Linked DNA regions of Homo sapiens: all the other regions are linked to region 2. The links are contacts of gene promoters, found by promoter capture Hi-C in human tissues and cell types (Jung and others, 2019). All regions are on one chromosome and are shown on one strand. The core of a region is centred on a gene start or on the middle of the fragment in contact, and the rest is flanking DNA. Distances in the headings are between cores, read along the strand shown. Region 1 overlaps ZNF559-ZNF177 (ZNF559-ZNF177 readthrough). Region 2 holds the start of ZNF560 (zinc finger protein 560). Region 3 has its middle 29 kb from the start of ZNF699.

What was found. Contacts are between HindIII fragments. The study calls those that stand out against the background at their distance.
Region 1: a fragment that was not itself captured here is called in contact with the fragment with the promoter of ZNF560 in region 2 in 3 of the 25 tissues and cell types used here (adrenal gland, aorta and small bowel).
Region 3: a contact is called between a fragment that was not itself captured here and the fragment with the promoter of ZNF560 in region 2, in 7 of the 25 tissues and cell types used here (H1 embryonic stem cells, IMR-90 fibroblasts, lymphoblastoid cells and 4 more).

Annotation. Positions count from the first base shown.
Region 1 is chr19:9,365,284-9,369,089 of GRCh38, reverse strand. All of the region lies in intron 7 of ZNF559-ZNF177 (ZNF559-ZNF177 readthrough), which reads right to left. The region is part of intron 2 of ZNF177 (zinc finger protein 177); the gene reads right to left. Among named protein-coding and RNA genes, the nearest start is that of ZNF177, 4.2 kb to the right of the region's middle. The HindIII fragment of the contact is 4,787 bases long and covers 1-3,806 here.
Region 2 is chr19:9,496,870-9,500,916 of GRCh38, reverse strand. ZNF560 (zinc finger protein 560) reads left to right here and starts at 2,301. Exons shown (of 10, transcript NM_152476.3): 1 at 2,301-2,379; 2 at 2,702-2,789. The HindIII fragment of the contact is 15,358 bases long and covers 1-4,047 here.
Region 3 is chr19:9,278,823-9,282,791 of GRCh38, reverse strand. It overlaps the pseudogene OR7H1P. Among named protein-coding and RNA genes, the nearest start is that of ZNF699, 29 kb to the left of the region's middle. The HindIII fragment of the contact is 5,089 bases long and covers 1-3,969 here.

The DNA.
Region 1 (3,806 bases), core at 844-3,343, 130 kb after region 2:
CTGACCATACTGTATGGTGAATATACTGTAAAGCCAGTCTTAAACCTTCCAAATTTGGTATATAAAACATCTCATGGGCCCCTTAAATATATATACCTACTATGTGCCCACAAAAATTAAAACTTAGAAAAAGATTTGGTATACAAACATGTTCTCTGACATGTCTTAATTACAATGTAACTAAGTTGTAAGTTAATAACGAGATTACATTGAACTATATGAAATGGGTGTTTTGGTAGTTTTAAAATATGGTTGAATATTAGTGGTTTCATATTTTTCAAGCAAACAGAAAAAAGTAACACATTTGGAATTCAGAAAACATCACACTTCCAAATAACTTATGCTTTTATAAAAGAATTGAATTAGAAAATACATAATACTATGGTTATTGATTAGTTCTAAGTACCACAACTTGTAGAATGTAGCTAAACTGGTCCTTAGGAAAAAAATAAGCTTTATATGTTTATATTAGAAAAGAAGTGAACTTAAAAATTAACTTAAGCAGCTGGAACGGGAAGAGCAGAAAATACGATGATGAACTAGAAAACAACAGTATCACTCAAGCTACAAACTGGTTCTTTGAAAACTACTAGGAAAAAAATCGGGCAAAATTCTTCAAAGACAAAAGGAGAAAAACACAACTACAAATGTTGCAGAGATTAACAAGACATGAATAACTTTAATCAAATTCAAAACTTTCAGGAAATAAATTGATTCCTACAGAAATACAACTTACCAAAACTGTGTAGAAATTACAATAAAAAGAACTAGCTGGTGATGGTTGAGTAACACTGTGAATGCAATGAATGCCACTGACTTGTACATTTAAAAATGATTAAAATGGCAAATTTGGCTTTAGGTATTTTACCACAATTTAAAAAATATAAAAGAAGAATCTAGACTGATCCCGTCAGCAAGGTGCTAGGTCTTCCCAGCTTAACTCACTGCCCAGATATTCTTTTAAAACAGAAAACAAAACTAGATTATTTAGGTTTTCACCAAAAAACACCATGCTCAAAGGCTTTATCAGTCAGTTATGCCACTCAAAGAAGAAAGAATTCCAGTCTGGATGAAAATATTCCAGAGATTAGGCATATTTATGAAGACTGGTTACTTAAACTACACTTCAATGTAATTTGTCACTAATGTTTGCATTATTTCAGGTATAGATAACTTATCCACTCTATAGGCAAGAGCTGGGTATCTGGAAGGTTTTATTTAATATAGCCTTTATGCAAACCCCAGAATTGTGTATGGTTCAAAATGTCATGTTTGCCTTTGGTTATTCTATTAACAGCAGTTTACAATATTACAAGGGAAAAAAATATGGTCACTTTTAAACTAATTTCACAAAACAGTTTAACTTATCAAAGGGATTACCGTGATTAAGAGTATAAAAGGAAGAATATTCTTTGAGATTGGCATACTGATATCAAACATGACAAGGCCACTTTAAGTAAACAAAATTATAGGCAAATTTCAACATAGATTCAGATATTCTAAGGAAAATAAGTCCAAACAAAAAATGTCAATAAATAGGAAATATAGTACAACAGAATTAAGTTAGGTTTACCAGAGGAATGCAAGAGATGCTTGCTATTAGAAAATCAATATAATTTGCTTCATTAATAGAGCAAAAGAAAAATTGTATGATCAACTCAAAGTGATAAAAACCAGTATCACATAATGATTTCAAAAATAAATTTTTTCAACCTGAAAACTTTCGGGCTGAATTTAATTCAGCCAGCTTATTTATTTTTATTTTTATTTTTTTTTTGAGACACTCTTGGTCTGTTTCCCAGGCTGGAGTGCAGTGGTGCGATCTCTGCTCACTGCAACCTCGCCAGGTTCAGGTGATTCTCCTGCCTCAGCCTCCCAAGTAGCTGGGACTACAGACGCGTGCCACCACACCCAGCTATGTTTTTGTATTTTTAGTAGAGACGGGGTTTCACCGTGTTAGCCAGGATGGTCTTGATCTGCTGACCTCATGATCCGCCCGCCTGGGCCTCCCAAAGTGCTGGGATTACAGGCGTGAGCCACCACGCCCAGCCTCAGCTGACTTTTGAAAACACAATTCAAAGATGGGCAAATGATCTGAATGTACATTTTTCTAAAGATAAAAAGGTCAACTGCACATGAAAAGATGCTGAACATCATTAGACACCAGGGAAATGCAAATCAAAACCACATTAAGATACCACTTCACACATTAAGGTGAGTGTAATTAAAAAGACAAGTGTGGATGAGGATGTGGAGAAATTCTCTTGTTTTTTTGTGGAGGGGAGTGAAGTGGGAAGTGGTGCTGCCACGTTGGCAAACAGCCTAGCATTTTACCAGAAGATTAAACATAAAAGTTCGTCTCATGAACAAGGCATTCCACTCCTAGGTATATACCCAAGAGAAATATTCACAGCAGCATTATTCATATTAGCCAAAAAGGAGAAACAACCCAAATGTCTATCTACCGATGAACGGATAAATGAAAATGTGGTATATCCATACAATGGACTATCATTTGACAATAGAAAATGAAGGCCAGGCATGGTGACTCATGCCTGTAATCCTCAGCACTTAGGGAGGCTGTAGTGGGTGGATCACATTAACCCAGGAGTTCAGACCAGCCTGGTAACACAGTGAGATCTCATCTCTACCAAAAATTTAAAAAAATAGCCAGGCTTGGTGGCCCACACCTGTGGTCCTACCTACTCGGGAGGCTAAGGTGGAAGGCCGAGCTAGGGAGGTCGAGGGCACCACGGCACTCCAGCCTGGGTGACAGAGAAAGACCTTGTCTCATTAAAAAAAGGAATGAGGCTAGGCACGGTGGCTCACGCCTGTAGTCCCAGCACTTTGGGAAGCCAAGGTGGGCGCATCACGAGGTCAGGAGATCCAGACCACTCTGGCCAACATGGTGAAAGAACGTCTCTACTAAAAATACAAAAATTAGCCGGGTGTGGTGGAGCATGCCTGTAATCCTAGCTACTTGGGAGGCTGAGGCAGGAGAATCACTTGAACCCGGGAGGCAGAGGTTGCAGTGAGCCGAGATTGCGCCACTGCACTCTAGCCTGGCGACAGAGGTAGATTTGGTGCTGTGACTCAGATCTGGGGACCTCCCTTGGGAGATCAATCCCCTATCCTCCTGCTCTTTGCTCTGTGAGAAAGATCCACCTATGACCTCAGGTCCTCAGACCGACCAGCCAAGGAACATCAATCCAATTTTAAATCAGGTAAGTGGCCTCTTTTTACTCTCTTCTCCAACCTCTCTTACTATCCCTCAACCTCTTTCTCATTTCAATCTTGGCGCCACACTTCAATCTCTCCCTTCTCTCAATTTCAGTTCCTTTCCTTTTCTCGTAGACAGGAGACGTGTTTTATCCATGGACCCAAAACTCCGGCGCCGGTCATGGACTCGGGAAGACAGTCTTCCCTTGGTGTTTAATCATGCGGGGACGCCTGCCTGATTATTCACCCACATTTCAGAGGTGTCTGACCACGTGGGGATGCCTGCCTTGGTCCTTCACCCTTAGCGGCAAGTACTGCTTTTCTGGGGGCAAGAACCCCCTGACCCCCTTCTCTCCATGTGTCTACCCTTCTCCGCTTTTCTGGGGGTCAAGAACCCCTGAACCCTTCTCTCCATATCTCTAGCCCTTCTCCACTTTTCTGGGGTGCAAGAACCCCCCGGTCCCTTCTCTCTGTGTCTCTACCCCTTCTCTGCTTTTCTGGAGGACAAGAAGCCCCCACCCCTTCTCTCCATGTCTCTACTCTCTCTTTTTTCTGGGCTTGCCTCCTTCACTATGGGCAAGCTTCTG
Region 2 (4,047 bases), core at 1,052-3,551:
GATGAAACCCAACACTTTTCCTTGATAAAAATTAAGAAAACTGGCCAGGCGTGGTGGCTCACACCTGTAATCCCAGCACTTTGGGTGGCCAAGGCAGGTGGATCATGAGGTCAGGAGTTGGAGACCAGCCTGGCCAAGCTGGTGAAACCCCGTCTCTACTAAAAATACAAAAAAATTAGCCAGGTGTTGTGGTGGGCACTTGGGAGTGCCCACCTACTTGGGAGGCTGAGGCAGAGAATTGCTTGAACCCGGGAGGTGGAGGTTGCAGTGAGCCAAGATCATGCCACTGCACTCCAGCCTGGGTGACAGAGCGAGATTGTCTCAAAAAAAAAATTAAGAAAACTAGAAACAGAAGGGAGTTTATTCAACGTGACAAAACGCACTTACGAAAACACAGCTAACGTGATATTCAATAGTGAATGCCTGAAAATTCTCCCTAAGACCAGGAAGGAGAGAAAGATGTCTGATTTTTCTATTGTTATTCAACATTCTACAGGAAATTCTTTTTTTTTTTTTTTTTTTGAGATGAAGTTTTGCTCTTGTCACCCAGGCTGGAGTGCAATGGAGCCATCTCCACTCACTGCAAACTCCGTAACCTCCGCCTCCCAGGTTCAAGTGATTCTCCTGCCTCAGCCTCCCGAGTAGCTGGGATTACAGGTGCCAACCACCACGCCTGGCTAATTTTTTGTATCTTTAGTAGAGACGGGGTTTCACCATGTTGGTCAGGCTGGTCTTGAACTCCTGACCTCAGGTGATCCACCCACCTCGGCCTCCCAAAATGTTGGGATTACAGGAGTGAGCCACCGTGCCCAGCCTCTACAGGAAATTCTAGCCAGAGCAATTACACAAGAAAATAAAATAAAAGGTTTCTCAATTAGAATAGAACAAATAAAAATATATTTATAGGTGATATTTGATATATAGAGAATTTTGAAGAATCTACAAGAAAACTAGCAGAGCTTGTAATAAATTCCGTAAAGTTGCACAGTACAACATCAAGAGATGAAAATTAGTTTTGTATCTATACACCAGCAATGAACAATCAGAAAAGGAAACTGAGAATGTGATCCCTTTTACAAATAAGTTACATGGGAATAACTTTACCCCAAGAGGTAAAATATTTGTAAACTGAAAATTTCAAAACATTACTGAAAGAGTTTAAAGAAGACCTAAATAGAGAGATATTGTATATTCACACATAGGAAGACTCAGTATTATAAAGATACCAATATAACCCGAAGATTCAACTAAATCTCTACCACAAGTCCAACAGTCCTTTCTTTTTCTGCACAGAATAAGTGAAGAATGCCTGGTATCAGTGTTATTTCATAAAGTAGTACAGGAGGCTTTGAATCATTTGATAAGATTTGAGAAATAGTAACAAATACATTGTTGAAGAAGAAAAAAAAATACAATAAGGCCAGGCATGGTGCATGATGGCTCACGCCTGTAATCCCACTTCGGGAGTGCAGGGCGGGCAGATCACTTGAGCCCAGGAGTTCCAGACCAGCCTGGGCAACATGGTTAGATCCTGTCTCTACAAAATAATAATAATGATGATAATAATAATAATACAAAAATTAGCCGGGTGCGGTGCGCCCGTGGTCCCAGCTACTCGGGAGGCTGAGGTGGAAGGATGGCTTGAGCCTGGAGAGGTGGAGACTGCAGTGAGCCGTGTTCCTACCACTGCATTCCAGCCTTGGCAACCGAGCCAGACCCTACCTCGAAGAAAAAAAGAAAAGAAAAGAAAAAAGAAAGAAAAGAAAAAAATTGCAATATTTACAGAAAGTATCGATAACTGAAAACGCAGAGGAATCAATGATTAGAGTTTAGCAAGGTCAGATAAATAAAAAGAAATAAGAGAAAATAAAGTTCTAAAGACGTGATCGAATGCAGGAAGCAGGCCATTTTGTGGATTGGCAGGTTATCAACTGGAGAGAATCCTGAAAGGGGTCCAGGAACGTGGGGAAAGTTTCTAATGAGCATCCTGAGGGGCGAGTCCATCGCCCGACGTTTCGCCTTCCTGGTCCATTCTGCCACCGAAGCCACCGGCTGGGTCTGGTCCCACCTCCAGCCCCGCCCCCGGGCATGGGCCCCGCCCACAGCCCTGATTTAACCCCCACCTTTCTCTGTGGGTCCATTTCTCTCTTGCCCACCCAGGCACTGAGCCGACCCCTTGATACCTCCGCACCCACGCGGAGGGAAACTAGAATCCTGAAGAGTTCCATCCTGTCCAACTGCCCACACAACGAGCCACGCCCCTTCCAATGCCCCAAACGGAAGTGACGTTGCGGCGCGCCAGTTCTCTCTTTTGGTCGCTGGCGCCTGTTTCCTCAGAGCCACTTTTTCCTTTGTGTTGTCTGGTCGTTCACTACTTTGGTGAGGCTCGTGTGGACTAGTGGGTTGGGCGGTGTTTCGGGGGGTGGCAGAGGTCACAATCGACCCAGGGTAATCGAGGAACCTCCTTACAGAGGCCTGGACCACTCCACAGGAGTCCGCAGGAGTCGCGGAGCCATCGGGTGAGGCCACGTCGAAGAGGCCATTGGGACCTTCGGTCCCCTAGAGGAGCCGGGTGGGAAGTGCAGTATGGGCGCGTCCGAGGGCTGTTTTCAGCCGTGTGTTCCCGTCTTCAAAAGTGTCCAAGCGTTCTGAGGCCTTAAAAAATAAGTCTCCAAGGCAACGTTTGTGAATTGTGTTTCAGAGGGAAAAGAATTTTGCCGTTCGCGTTCGATTGACTCCGTCCCCAAGATCCTGTAGCCCCACGGACCTGGCGACTCCACCGTGTTCGGGTGAGCATTGGGAAAAAGTTGGTTTAAGGGGGCAGCTGCTTCCTTTTTTATGCAAACGAGTGTTTCATGTGAGATTTTGGCATTTTGCCTTTGTGAAACCTGTATATTTTTTATTGACACATTACGTTCCGGTAGAAAGGTGCTTTCTTAGTTGTCTAGGGTGTGCGTATTTCTGCATGTGCATATAAACGTTTGTAGACCGCGAGTCTTTCTACTAAAGAAACCTAAGAATACTCAGCCATTCTTTTCATCTGAAGTTCCTAGCTCTGTACGTCTCCAAAGAGCTTCATAACCAGGCTTCCTGGAAGAAAGGATGGAGGGTTTACACACTAATACTAGAATAATCGAATTTACCATTAACAGGATGACTGTACTAAGTGTATTTTTCCCGCATTTTTTTTCGAAAAAACTTAAACCTATGGGTATGTTGACCATCCAGTACCACGAATAAATATCCATTGTAGCTGCACCTGTTTTTTAGCGTTTTGTGTATTCGCCGTCTCGTAAATAAATTTTATGGTGAACAGTTTGAGAGTCAATGGGAAATTCATTGCAGAGATGAAGCTCGACATTTTTTTTTTTTTTTTTTTTTTGAGAGGGGGTCTAGCTGTGTCGCCCAGGCTGGAGTGCAGTGGCGCGATCTCGCCTCACTGCAACCTCTGCCTCCCGGGTTCAAGCGATTCTCCTGCCTCAGCTTCCCAAGTGGCTGTAATTACAGGGGTGTGCCACCGTGCCCGGATAATTTTTTGTATTTTTGTAGAGATGGGGTTTCACCGTGATAGCCAGGATGGTAAGCTCGACATTTAAGTAGTGGGTAATGCCTGACTCAATGATAAGAGTGTTGTTTTACTAAAACCGTAATACTATTTGCATCAAGAAAATTAAAAATAATAATGTTATCTAATATTTACTATGTATAATAAATGAAAATTCTCCAAATTCTTCTAAAATATAACGGAATGTTTTTGGATCTGAGCTCTATTCAAGATTTTTTTTTTTTGAGAGTTTTTTTGAGGCAGGATGTTGCCTTGTTGCCCAGGCTGGAGTGCGGTGGCATGATATTGGCTCACTGCAACCACCGCTTACCACGCCCAACTTTGTGTTTCTGTGCCTGGTTTATTTCACTTAACGTACTGTCCTCCAGTTCTATCTACGTTGTTGAAAATGACAGGATTTCATTCTATTTTTTTTTTGAGACACAGTCTCGTTCTGTCGCCAGGGTGGAGTGCAGTGGTGTGATCTCGACTTACTGCAACCT
Region 3 (3,969 bases), core at 544-3,043, 220 kb after region 2:
TGCTTTTATGAGCTGTAACACTCACCGCGAAGGTCTGCAGCTTCACTCCTGAAGCCAGCGAGACCACGAGCCTACTGGGAGGAACGAACAACTCCAAACGCGCTGCTTTAAGAGCTGTAACACTCACAGTGAAGGTCTGCAGCTTCACTCCTGAGCCAGCGAGACCATGGACCCACCAGAAGGAAGAAACTCCGAACACATCCGAACATCAGAAGGAACAAACTCCAGACGCGCCACTTAAGAGCTGTAACACTCACCGCGAGGGTCTGCGGCTTCATTCTTGAAGTCAGTGAGACCAAGAACCCACCAATTCTGGACACAAGGTGGCTCCTGTGGTGGGTCCACATTGTCAAACCTTCATAGCTCAGTAAGTGTTGAGGGAAATAGGGAAAAGAGATGATTGAGGGGAAAGGCATTGACTTGTTAATCATAGGGCAGGAGAAACCCTGTGATGTCCACGGAGAAGGGGCTGTTGAGGCTGATTTCTTGGAAGGGAGAATGGCTAGACTACTTGCTTAAATAGCCATTGTATAGCGAGCTTTAACTTTGCCTGTATATTACTTGGGTAGATGACTGATGGAGGTTATAGGAAGGGCTACTCTTTGTTGGCCTGGGGCACTGTTTGATATCTTAGCGCTGCCCTGGATCACTCTGTGTGGTCTTGGAGTGACCAATCTGCATTGTACAAATGGATGCTCCAAGGTACATGATAGGAATTGCAATTCTCCCTGGGGCCTGGAGGGAAAGATGGATTTAGGGCAGGCAAAACTAAGGACAAGGAAACAGGGTTGGGGATTCCTCATATCATTGGAATTGAGGGGAACAACTCAGGAATATTTTTGCAGAAGAAAAACAAAGGCCAGGAGAGGTAAAGGAATGAGGTCAATGTCTTGCTAACAATCTCAGCTTAAGGACGAGACTTGACTTCAAGTGAAATGAAGGGAATTATGGAAAAGAATCCTGCAGGTTTCAGTAGGAGCTGTAGGTGCCTTGCAGTGAAGTCCTGGTCACTTCTAGTTCTTTTCACCTACTACCTGACCCAAGAACTTCAGAGGCCCTCAGCCTAGATCAAGCCTCTCTGAATTCTTCTCTGTGACCCTCACTTGCTTGGAAACATCTCCTGCCTCTCCAGAAAGACTTATCCTTCCCCATCCTTCTTTACCCTTATCCATGATTCTAAGTAGACACCTTCAAGAGACAAGCGTCTGTGTTCCCTGGAATGGAAGGCCATGGTGTATAACAACTAGGGTACGATGGGTGAGTGAGGGAAAGTGAAGGGCTCAGGCAAGCCCAACATCCAGTCTCCTCTTGACATCGTATCCTCTGGGGAACACGAGGGAAGCATTGAAACCTGCAGGATTCTTTTCCATAATTCCCTTCATTTCACTTGAAGGTCAAGTCTCATCCTTAAGCTGAGATTGTTAGCAAGACATTGACCTCATTCCTTTACCTCTCCTGGCCTTTGTATTTCTTCTGCAAAAATATTCCTGAGTTGTTCCCCTCAATTCCAATGATATGAAGAATCCCCAACCCTGTTCCCTTATCCTTAGTTTTGCCTGCCCTAAATCCATCTTTCCCTCCAGGCCCCAGGGAGAATTGCAATTCCTATCATGTTACTCCTTTGATTGCCGTTCCTTCACAGCCCCATCCTTTATGGATTATACTTTTCAAAGTTCTTAGACATGTCATCCCTGCCCACCTCTCCAACATCATCCTCATCGTTTCTATCTAACACTTTGTACTTAAGCAGCAGCAAAGGGCTAAGAGAACTCTGTCCCATGCTGCTTCTTGCTTCTAGGCTTATTCCCTTGCTTATATCTCTGCCAGAAATGCCCCTGTGCAACCATTCACCTGGGTAACTCCTTGCCCAGGTATTCCTTCCTCCAGGACTCCTTCCCTGAATGCATTACTCCAGGCTGGATTGAGGGTTCCTCTCTGTACTCCACTCTGTACATCGTTTTATTTTAGCACTTAATTCACTGTGTTACAATGATCTGTTTCTGAATCCATCTTCTGGAAGGTGGAACCATAAGAAAAAAAAGACCACATCATTAATCTTTGTATCCCCAACAGCTAACACTTAGCCTGGCCCAAAGAAGACCCTCTTGCAGAATGGCTGTTAGCACTTTTTCAGTGACTGACAACCTAGTTGTCAACCTAGTTCAATTCTTCTGTACTTCCCAGCACGGCTCAACAAAAATTATGCACCAGGCCACGTGCTGTGGCTCATGCCTGTAATCCCAGCACTTTGGGAGGCCGAGGTGGGCAGATCACCTGAGGTTGGGAGTTGAAGACCAGCCTGGCCAACATGGTAAAACTAACTAGTTTTTGTAAAAAACTAGCTAGTTAGTTTTGTATTTTTACAAAAACTAGCTGGGCATGGTGGTGCACACCTGTAATCCCAGCTACTCAGGAGGCTGAGGCAGGAGAATTGTTTGAACCCGGGAGGCAGAGGTTATAGTGAGCCGAGATTGCGCCACTGAACTCTCCAGCCTGGGTGACAGCTCAAGACTCTGTCTCAAAAGAAAAGAAAACAAACAAAAACCCAACAACAACAAAAAAAATTGTGCACCAACACTAGACACTAGAAACAGATTAGGACATATTTATTATGTGGATGGAAAAAGAGAATCATATAAGTGTCAAATGACTGTATCTTTCTGGTCTCTAATTTTGAAACCCTGGTTCTAAGGTAGAAAGTTTTTAATGTGCGGTCAGCTTCTTAAGATGAATGTTATTACTGGTAATGTCATGACCTATTTGAATCAGAATTTGGCTGCCACCATAATTCCAAGTGGGACTTAAGGCAACAAGTAACCCTTCCTTCCTTCCTTCCTTCCTTCCTTCCTTCCTTCCTTCCTTCCTTCCTTTCTTCCTTTCCTTCCTTCCTTCTTTCCTTCCTTCCCTTCCTTCCTCCTTCCCTCCCTCCCTTCCTCTTTCCTTCCTTGAAAACCTAAATCCACTCATCTTGCAATATTTTGTCTAGCTATTATCTCTGCTTTCATATTTTCTCACTGCTCAGACATAGTTGTCTGACCTTCTTCAGTCTCAGTTGTGTCTTAGACAAGGAAGATGACCCTGACCTTTTCTTAAGTTCACTGAACCTTATATGTGTTAGAGCAGGTGCAGACCATTTTATCTCTAAGGTCTAAAGTTGCTCTTGGTAGATTTGATGATTCTAAAGCAGAGAAAAAGGGAATGGGTAAGCCTCTGAGAGGCCAATGAACAGGGGTTAGTCAACGTTATGAAATGTTGCCTATAACAAATGACAGAATGTAGGATTCCTAAGTTTTGCTATTTTAAAGCTTTTGTATCCAATTATTCACCTCAAGAAATAAAAAAGCAGAGAGATTTTGGAGCCTGTTCAGCATCTATTTCATGTTTCTTCCCTTCCTTAACTGTCTAGCTGATGTGTCAGCAACATGGACTTGGGAAATCAAACAAGAGTTTCAGAATTTTTACTCCTGGGATTTTCCCAAGACCTAGAGGATCAACAGTTGCTCTTTGCACTGTTTCTGTCCATGTACCTGGTCACCGTTCTGGGGAACCTGCTCATCATCCTGGCCATCAGCTCTGACTCCCACCTCCACACCCCCAGGTACTTCTTCCTCTCCAATCTGTCCCTGGCTGACATCGGTTTCACCTCCACCGCAGTCCCCAAGATGCTGGTGAACATCCAGGTGCAGAGCAATGCCATCAGCTATGCAGACTGCATCGCCCAGATGTATGTTTTTCATGGTTTTTGGAGGCATGGACACATTTCTCCTCACCGTGATGGCCTATGACCGGTATGTGGCCATCTGTCACCCCCTGTACTACTGTGTCACCAGGAACCCCTGCCTCTGTGGCCTGCTGGTTCTTGTGTCCTGGTTCCTCAGCTTGTCATACTCCCTGATCCAGAGTCTGTTGGTGCTGCGGGTGTCCTTCTGCACCAGTTGAGTCATTCAGCACTTTTACTGTGAGCTTGCT